Linked DNA regions of Homo sapiens: regions 1 and 2 are each linked to region 3. Evidence: promoter capture Hi-C in 16 types of primary human blood cells and fetal thymus (Javierre and others, 2016). All regions are on one chromosome and are shown on one strand. The core of a region is centred on a gene start or on the middle of the fragment in contact, and the rest is flanking DNA. Distances in the headings are between cores, read along the strand shown. Region 1 holds the start of TP53 (tumor protein p53). Region 2 holds the start of EIF5A (eukaryotic translation initiation factor 5A). Region 3 overlaps PFAS (phosphoribosylformylglycinamidine synthase).

Evidence for each region. The method cuts DNA at HindIII sites, captures the fragments that hold promoters and counts their contacts. A CHiCAGO score of 5 or more calls a contact.
Region 1: a contact is called between the fragment with the promoter of TP53 here and a fragment that was not itself captured in region 3, in 1 of 17 cell types (fetal thymus). The highest score is 8.3, in fetal thymus.
Region 2: a contact is called between the fragment with the promoter of EIF5A here and a fragment that was not itself captured in region 3, in 1 of 17 cell types (activated CD4 T cells). The highest score is 5.6, in activated CD4 T cells.

Annotation. Positions count from the first base shown.
Region 1 is chr17:7,686,116-7,688,815 of GRCh38, reverse strand. It overlaps TP53 (tumor protein p53), which reads left to right and starts at 1,326. Exons shown (of 11, transcript NM_000546.6): 1 at 1,326-1,439. It overlaps WRAP53 (WD repeat containing antisense to TP53), which reads right to left and starts at 339. Exons shown (of 11, transcript NM_001143992.2): 1 at 255-339; 2 at 1-168. The coding sequence starts at 167. RefSeq lists enhancers at 388-437, 1,236-2,435, 2,396-2,445, 1,909-2,456, 2,476-2,605. The HindIII fragment of the contact is 572 bases long and covers 1,009-1,580 here.
Region 2 is chr17:7,306,212-7,308,911 of GRCh38, reverse strand. EIF5A (eukaryotic translation initiation factor 5A) reads right to left here and starts at 1,284. Exons shown (of 6, transcript NM_001970.5): 1 at 1,160-1,284. RefSeq lists enhancers at 1-117, 1,348-2,158, 1,988-2,287, 2,159-2,700 and silencers at 588-707, 798-967, 1,328-1,437. The HindIII fragment of the contact is 13,725 bases long and covers 1-2,700 here.
Region 3 is chr17:8,249,741-8,252,440 of GRCh38, reverse strand. All of the region lies in intron 1 of PFAS (phosphoribosylformylglycinamidine synthase), which reads right to left. Among named protein-coding and RNA genes, the nearest start is that of PFAS, 1.8 kb to the right of the region's middle. The HindIII fragment of the contact is 2,695 bases long and covers 70-2,700 here.

The DNA of each region.
Region 1 (2,700 bases), core at 77-2,576, 560 kb after region 3:
TCTGGGGACAACCGGGGCGGATCCCCCCTTTCGGGAGGCGGTGGCATCAGTTCAGAGTCCGCATTTTTATTCATCGGGGAAGCGTGGGGAGAAGGATGGGCTGGAGCTGGGTCCTGGTCTGAAGGACAGCAGTCCGGAGCTAACGGTTGAGTCTCCAAAGTCTTCATACTGCAGAGGAAGCACAGCGGAGATTAGCCTCAGCCAGGATGGCTTCGAAGTTCTCAGGGATCCGACGCAGAGCTAAAGAAACCCACCTGTGCTTCCCTCCTCTTCTGGGAGTAGGCAGAAGACTCCCGGGAGGAGAGGCGAACAGCGGACGCCAATTCTTTTGAAAGCACTGTGTTCCTTAGCACCGCGGGTCGCTACGGGCCTCTTGCTGTCGCGGGATTTCGGTCCACCTTCCGATTGGGCCGCCGCATCCCGGATCAGATTTCGCGGGCGACCCACGGAACCCGCGGAGCCGGGACGTGAAAGGTTAGAAGGTTTCCCGTTCCCATCAAGCCCTAGGGCTCCTCGTGGCTGCTGGGAGTTGTAGTCTGAACGCTTCTATCTTGGCGAGAAGCGCCTACGCTCCCCCTACCGAGTCCCGCGGTAATTCTTAAAGCACCTGCACCGCCCCCCCGCCGCCTGCAGAGGGCGCAGCAGGTCTTGCACCTCTTCTGCATCTCATTCTCCAGGCTTCAGACCTGTCTCCCTCATTCAAAAAATATTTATTATCGAGCTCTTACTTGCTACCCAGCACTGATATAGGCACTCAGGAATACAACAATGAATAAGATAGTAGAAAAATTCTATATCCTCATAAGGCTTACGTTTCCATGTACTGAAAGCAATGAACAAATAAATCTTATCAGAGTGATAAGGGTTGTGAAGGAGATTAAATAAGATGGTGTGATATAAAGTATCTGGGAGAAAACGTTAGGGTGTGATATTACGGAAAGCCTTCCTAAAAAATGACATTTTAACTGATGAGAAGAAAGGATCCAGCTGAGAGCAAACGCAAAAGCTTTCTTCCTTCCACCCTTCATATTTGACACAATGCAGGATTCCTCCAAAATGATTTCCACCAATTCTGCCCTCACAGCTCTGGCTTGCAGAATTTTCCACCCCAAAATGTTAGTATCTACGGCACCAGGTCGGCGAGAATCCTGACTCTGCACCCTCCTCCCCAACTCCATTTCCTTTGCTTCCTCCGGCAGGCGGATTACTTGCCCTTACTTGTCATGGCGACTGTCCAGCTTTGTGCCAGGAGCCTCGCAGGGGTTGATGGGATTGGGGTTTTCCCCTCCCATGTGCTCAAGACTGGCGCTAAAAGTTTTGAGCTTCTCAAAAGTCTAGAGCCACCGTCCAGGGAGCAGGTAGCTGCTGGGCTCCGGGGACACTTTGCGTTCGGGCTGGGAGCGTGCTTTCCACGACGGTGACACGCTTCCCTGGATTGGGTAAGCTCCTGACTGAACTTGATGAGTCCTCTCTGAGTCACGGGCTCTCGGCTCCGTGTATTTTCAGCTCGGGAAAATCGCTGGGGCTGGGGGTGGGGCAGTGGGGACTTAGCGAGTTTGGGGGTGAGTGGGATGGAAGCTTGGCTAGAGGGATCATCATAGGAGTTGCATTGTTGGGAGACCTGGGTGTAGATGATGGGGATGTTAGGACCATCCGAACTCAAAGTTGAACGCCTAGGCAGAGGAGTGGAGCTTTGGGGAACCTTGAGCCGGCCTAAAGCGTACTTCTTTGCACATCCACCCGGTGCTGGGCGTAGGGAATCCCTGAAATAAAAGATGCACAAAGCATTGAGGTCTGAGACTTTTGGATCTCGAAACATTGAGAACTCATAGCTGTATATTTTAGAGCCCATGGCATCCTAGTGAAAACTGGGGCTCCATTCCGAAATGATCATTTGGGGGTGATCCGGGGAGCCCAAGCTGCTAAGGTCCCACAACTTCCGGACCTTTGTCCTTCCTGGAGCGATCTTTCCAGGCAGCCCCCGGCTCCGCTAGATGGAGAAAATCCAATTGAAGGCTGTCAGTCGTGGAAGTGAGAAGTGCTAAACCAGGGGTTTGCCCGCCAGGCCGAGGAGGACCGTCGCAATCTGAGAGGCCCGGCAGCCCTGTTATTGTTTGGCTCCACATTTACATTTCTGCCTCTTGCAGCAGCATTTCCGGTTTCTTTTTGCCGGAGCAGCTCACTATTCACCCGATGAGAGGGGAGGAGAGAGAGAGAAAATGTCCTTTAGGCCGGTTCCTCTTACTTGGCAGAGGGAGGCTGCTATTCTCCGCCTGCATTTCTTTTTCTGGATTACTTAGTTATGGCCTTTGCAAAGGCAGGGGTATTTGTTTTGATGCAAACCTCAATCCCTCCCCTTCTTTGAATGGTGTGCCCCACCCCGCGGGTCGCCTGCAACCTAGGCGGACGCTACCATGGCGTGAGACAGGGAGGGAAAGAAGTGTGCAGAAGGCAAGCCCGGAGGTATTTTCAAGAATGAGTATATCTCATCTTCCCGGAGGAAAAAAAAAAAGAATGGGTACGTCTGAGAATCAAATTTTGAAAGAGTGCAATGATGGGTCGTTTGATAATTTGTCGGAAAAACAATCTACCTGTTATCTAGCTTTGGGCTAGGCCATTCCAGTTCCAGACGCAGGCTGAACGTCGTGAAGCGGAAGGGGCGGGCCCGCAGGCGTCCGTGTGGTCCTCCGTGCAGCCCTC
Region 2 (2,700 bases), core at 35-2,534, 940 kb after region 3:
CTGTCGGCTTTTCAGGCCGGGCCAGTACAGTCAGTAGAAAGTGGGAGAGGTGGGGGGTGGTGAATGACAATAAAATGAAAGCAAAAGGTTGGTAGTAGTGAGTAGTAGAAAATCATACTAGGCTAGTAGAGTTAAGGACTTCGAAACCGTGGAACTCCCAAACCAGTTACAACAGGAAGACAGTGACAAGGTGAAGAACGCCTATCACGGTGGGAAACTCATCTGCCTGAGGCTTTTAGGCGCTGTCCACCCAGGCCGACAGAAAAGTTGGGCTCCTGTCCAAACGCCCTGTTTCCCCATTTCTCCGGCCTCCCAGCTCGAAGGGGTGCCACTTACACCTGGCTGACCGCCACACTTCACAGGAGGGTTTTTCAGGAAAGCTCCTGGGGCCCTTGAGGTTGGGAAGCGCTAACATATGCCTGCAGCAGGCCCTCCGGGGTGATTAGGACCCGAGCCTCCGGCTTCCACTCCTCAAAATCTCAGGCCCCCTCGGAACCCCCGCGAGGACTAGCTCCCCGCGCTAGGGGCTGCCGGCTCCTGCCGACCATGTGGCCGTTCCGGGCTTCCGGTGGCCGGGACCTGGGGGGAGGGGTCCCCGCGCTGCCATGCGGCCCCGGTCCACGCTTGGCCATGCGGCCTGCGACCCCGAGGGCAGCCTCCCGTGGGGGGCACTTCCGGTGCCGCGGCCGCCCCCTCCTCAGAGACTGCGCCAGGCCGGAGCCACGCCGCCTCCCCTCCCCCCGGCCGTCCGCCAACCCCCCCCATCATGCCCTCTCACCGAATAGCCCCCTCCCCCACCTCACGTGGCCGCGCTGAGCCGGGTCCTCAACGGCCCAGGTACCCTTGCCCCGGTGGGCCGATCTGGCCCCTGGCCCTCGCCCCGGCGTGGCCGCCTGGCGGCCTCTCCCGCGTGGCTGCCTCGCGGCTCGCCGTCCCCCGCCCTGCGTCGCTCCAACGTCACCGGGCCAACCCCAACCGTCACCCCGCGCGCCAACCGGGGCGCGCGCCCGCGCCTCTCCTCACCTCGCGCCGCTCTCTGGCCGAACCCGTGCGGCGGCGGCCGCCGCTCCCCTCTGCCCCCTCCCCGACCCCCGCGCAGTTCCATCTTCTCCCGGGCCCAAGCCAAGGTACCGCGCACACGCGCCCTGCCCGCTCTCACCTCGCGCGAACGCACTGACTCGACCCCGTCCGCTCGCCGCGAGCCCAACCGCTGCCTCCGAGCCCGCTGCCGCCGCCGCCGCCGCCTCTACCGCCGCCGCCGCTGCTGCACACGGGTCTTAGTACGCAGGCGCCGACTCCCCACTGACCAACCAAGCAGCCCTATGACAGCCGCGCAAGCGTGCTATCTATCTCCTCCGCCCTCCACCCCCGCACTGCGCAAGCGCACACACCCTACCCATCTCCACCCTCCCTCCCACCGACCCGTCCAATGACGCGCATACGTGACCCCGCCCCTCACAAACCCTGAGCGTTTTCAACTAATCTGCAACGCGCAGGCGCACCCGGTTTTTTAATCTCTTCAACCTCATCTTCCCTCCCCTTGATAGACCGCTCGTCCTACCGGGCAGTCCTTGCGCCTGCGCAATAAGGAGCCCTGCACTCCACACCCTCTAAAGGAAACGCCTGGGTCTCAGAACGCATGCGTGTTCGGAATCCTAAACAACCCCTTCCACCTCAGACGCCGTCAGTACGCCAGGCGTTGAAAAGACCACGCCGCTAGATCACTTGTCTCGTCTAGAACGCATGCGTCTCAGGATACGCCCCACCTCGGCTTTAACTGGACTTAAACGACTCACACGTTTCAGAAAACTTGCTCTGTGGGGTGGGCGCCTTGTCTTGGAATCAGTCCCCCCAGTTCCACACATGCGCGGGAGATGTCTTTCCGCCCCACTCTTCTAGCGCGCTAGTGTGGTCGGGTTCCCACCCATCTCGGCTTCACTTCTCTAAATCGAATGCCTATGCTCTGCCATAGAGTTCACCCGAGAAGATAGAGCGGTCCTGCGGCGGACACCATCTTCTTTAAACCCTCAGTCCGTATTGGTCTCTATGGCATCCATAGAGGCCATTCGGCTCTGAGGTCCTCAGTAAAGAAACTTAGATGGTATTACTGTGTTTTCCCCAACTGTGCTCTGCGGTTCCCCAAAGTATTGTCTACGAGGTCCCTTAGAAAAAATTGTCTATAAAAATGAGTGGTGGGCCGGGCGCGGTGGCTGACACCTGTAATCTCAGCACTCTGGGAGGCCGAGGCGGGCGGATCACCTGAGGTCGGGAGTTCGAGACCAGCCTGACCAACATGGAGAAACCCCGTCTCTACTAAAAATACAAAATTAGCCGGGCGTGGCGGCGCATGCCTGTAATCCCAGCTACTCGGGAGGCTGGGACAGGAGAATCGCTTCTCCTGTGGAGGTTGCCGTGAGCCGAGATTGCGCCATTGCACTCCAGCCTGGGTAACAAGAGCGAAACTCAAGTCTCAAAAACATAAATAAATAATACATAAATAAAATAAAATAGTGGTAGGCCGGGAGCGGTGGCTCACGCCTGTAATCCCAGCACTTTGGGAGGCCGAGGCGGGCGGATCACAAGGTCAGGAGTTCAAGACCAGCCTGGCCAACGTAGTGAAACCCCCGTCTCTACTGAAAATACAAAAAAATTAGCCGGGCGTGGAGGTGGGCGCCTGTACCAGCTACTCGGGAGGCAGAG
Region 3 (2,700 bases), core at 168-2,667:
CAAGAGTGAAACTCTGTCTCAAAACAAACAAAAACAAACAAACAAAAAAGGATCTCTGATCACAAAGCTTTTGTTTAAGAATTTATTGCTTGATGATATCATGTCATAAATTATTTATTTATTTATTTATTTTCTTTTTCTTTTTTTTTGAGATGGATTCACTCTGTCACCCAGGCTGGAGTGCAGTGGCACAATCTGGGCTCTCTGCAACTTCTGCCACCTGGGTTCAAGCAATTCTCCTGCCTCAGCCTCCCAAGTAGCTGAGATTACAGGCATGCGCCACCACGCCCAGCTAATTTTTGTATTATTAGTAGAGACGGGGTTTCCCTATGTTCGCCAGGCTGGTCTCCAACTCCTGACCTCAAGTGATCTGCCCGCCTCGGACTCCCAAAGCGTTGGGATTACAGGCGTGCGCCACCATTCCGACCCATAAATTATTAAAACAAAAAAAAAGAATTGCTTAAGCAGGGCTGGGCATGGTGGCTCACATCTGTAATCCTAGCACTTTAGGAGGCCAAGAGGGGCAGATCACTTGAGGTCAGGAGTTCAAGACCAACCTGGCCAACGTGGTGAAACCCTGTCTCTATTAAAAATACAAAAAATTAGCCGGGCGTGGTGGCAAGCACCTGTAGTCCCAGCTACTCGGGAGGCTGAGGCAGGAGAATCACTGGAACCTGGGAAGCAGAGGTTGCAGTGAGCCAAGATTGAGCCATTGCACTCCAGCCTGGGTGACAGAGTAAGACTCTGACTCAAAAAAAAAAAAAAAAAAAAAGAATTGCTTAAGCAGATCCTGAATTCCAGCAGAACAGCTGACTCCACCAGCTCAAAGACTCCCACAGAAGCCAGGAGCAGTGGCTCACGCCTATAATCCCAATGCCTGTAATCCCAGCACTTTGGGAGGCCAAAGCAGTGGACTGCTTGAGCCCAGGAGTTTGAGACCAGCCCTGGGCAACATGGTAAGACCCTGTCTTTATAAAAAAAAAAATTAAAAATTAGTGGGGCATGGTGGCATGTACCTGTGGTCCCAGCTACTCAAGAGGCTGAGGTAAGAGGATCGCTTGAGCCCATGAGTTTGAGGCTGCAGTGAGCTACGATTGTGCCACTGCACTCCAGCCTGGGTGACAGAGCAAGACCCCGTCTTTCTTTTTCTTTTTTTGAGATGGGGTCTCACTCTGTTGCCAGGCTGGAGTACAGTGGCACGATCTCGGCTCACTGCAACCTCTGCCTTGCGGGTTCACGCGATTCTCCTGCCTCGGTCTCCCGAGTAGCTGAGACTACAGGTGCACACCACCATGACCAGCTAATTTTTGTATTTTTAGTAGAGATGGGGTTTCACCATGTTCGCCAGGATGGTCTCAATCTCTTGAACTCGTGATCCACCCACCTCAGCCTCCCAAAGTGCTGGGATTATAGGCGTGAGCGACTGCGCCAGGCAGACCTCATCTTTCAAATTAAAAAAAATAAAAAAAAAAAAAGACTCCCACAGTGGAACCAAGTGAGCATGAGAATCAGTTTCTTCATCTCCCTGTTTCATGACCTCACCCTGCACTCTTCAATCAATGATTTTCACACTTCATCCTAATCCTATTCCAAACTCTTTTTTAAAAACCCTAGCCCCAAAGTACTCTGGGAGATGGATTTGAGGTTTCCTCCTGTCTCCTTGTTCAGCAGCCCTATGATTAAACCTCTTTCTCTGCTGCAACCTGGTGTCTTGGTGTATTGACCTCCAGTGTGCATCAGGCAACAGAACTATTACAGTTAATACTTTTAGCCTAACATTCAAAGGCCCTCCCCATCTATCCCAAACTACCTATCCAATTTCTGGTCCCACTGCCTCTCAGCGGGACCCTGGCTTTACTCACCAAACTCTGCTGTTCCCCTAGTCTTGCCACTCAGTAAACACTACCATCATCCAATTTGTTGCTCAAGACAAAAACACAGAAGTCATCCTTAATTCTCTTTCCCTCAGACTCTCTAAATCCAATCCACCAGGAAATCTATTTCCAATCATGTCTCAAATCTCTCATCTCTTCATCTCTACTACCTCACTCTAGTTCAAGTAAGCCACCACCATCACTCACCTGGACCAATGCATTAACCTCCTGACCACTGCATAACCACAATTCATTTGTCACACATCAGCATAAAGTGGATTATGGCTTCCCATTACACATGGTATAAATTCCAACTCAGCATCCTGGTTTACCAAGTCTGGCCACTCTCTGGCCTACCTTTCCAACCCTATCTCACACCATTCTCTTTTTCACCCACAATGCACCAACCACACATTAGCTTCTTTTTTATTTCTCTAACTTGCCAAGCTCAGTCCTGGAAGGCATTTTTTTCACCCTGACATATGCATGGCTAGCTCTTGTTATTTAGATTTCTGGTGATTCGCCTTCGTGGAAAAGGCTTCACTAGCCACTCAAGTAGTTACTATCAGATGGCCGGCCCTATTTTAATTTCCTGTAAAGCGCTTATCACTATTGGATGTTTTTATTTTTCGCTCTATATTCCCCACTAGAAAAAAAATCTCTACGTGGGCATGGGATGTTGCTGCTTCGTTTCCATTGAATTACCAAGGCTTAGAACAATACCAGGGCTTGAAACGCAAAAAAATTCTAAAACTTGTGGAATGACTTAATGAACTCTTGATTCTCACCACTCTTCAGCCCCTCCCCAACTTTCAGGACAGTCTTC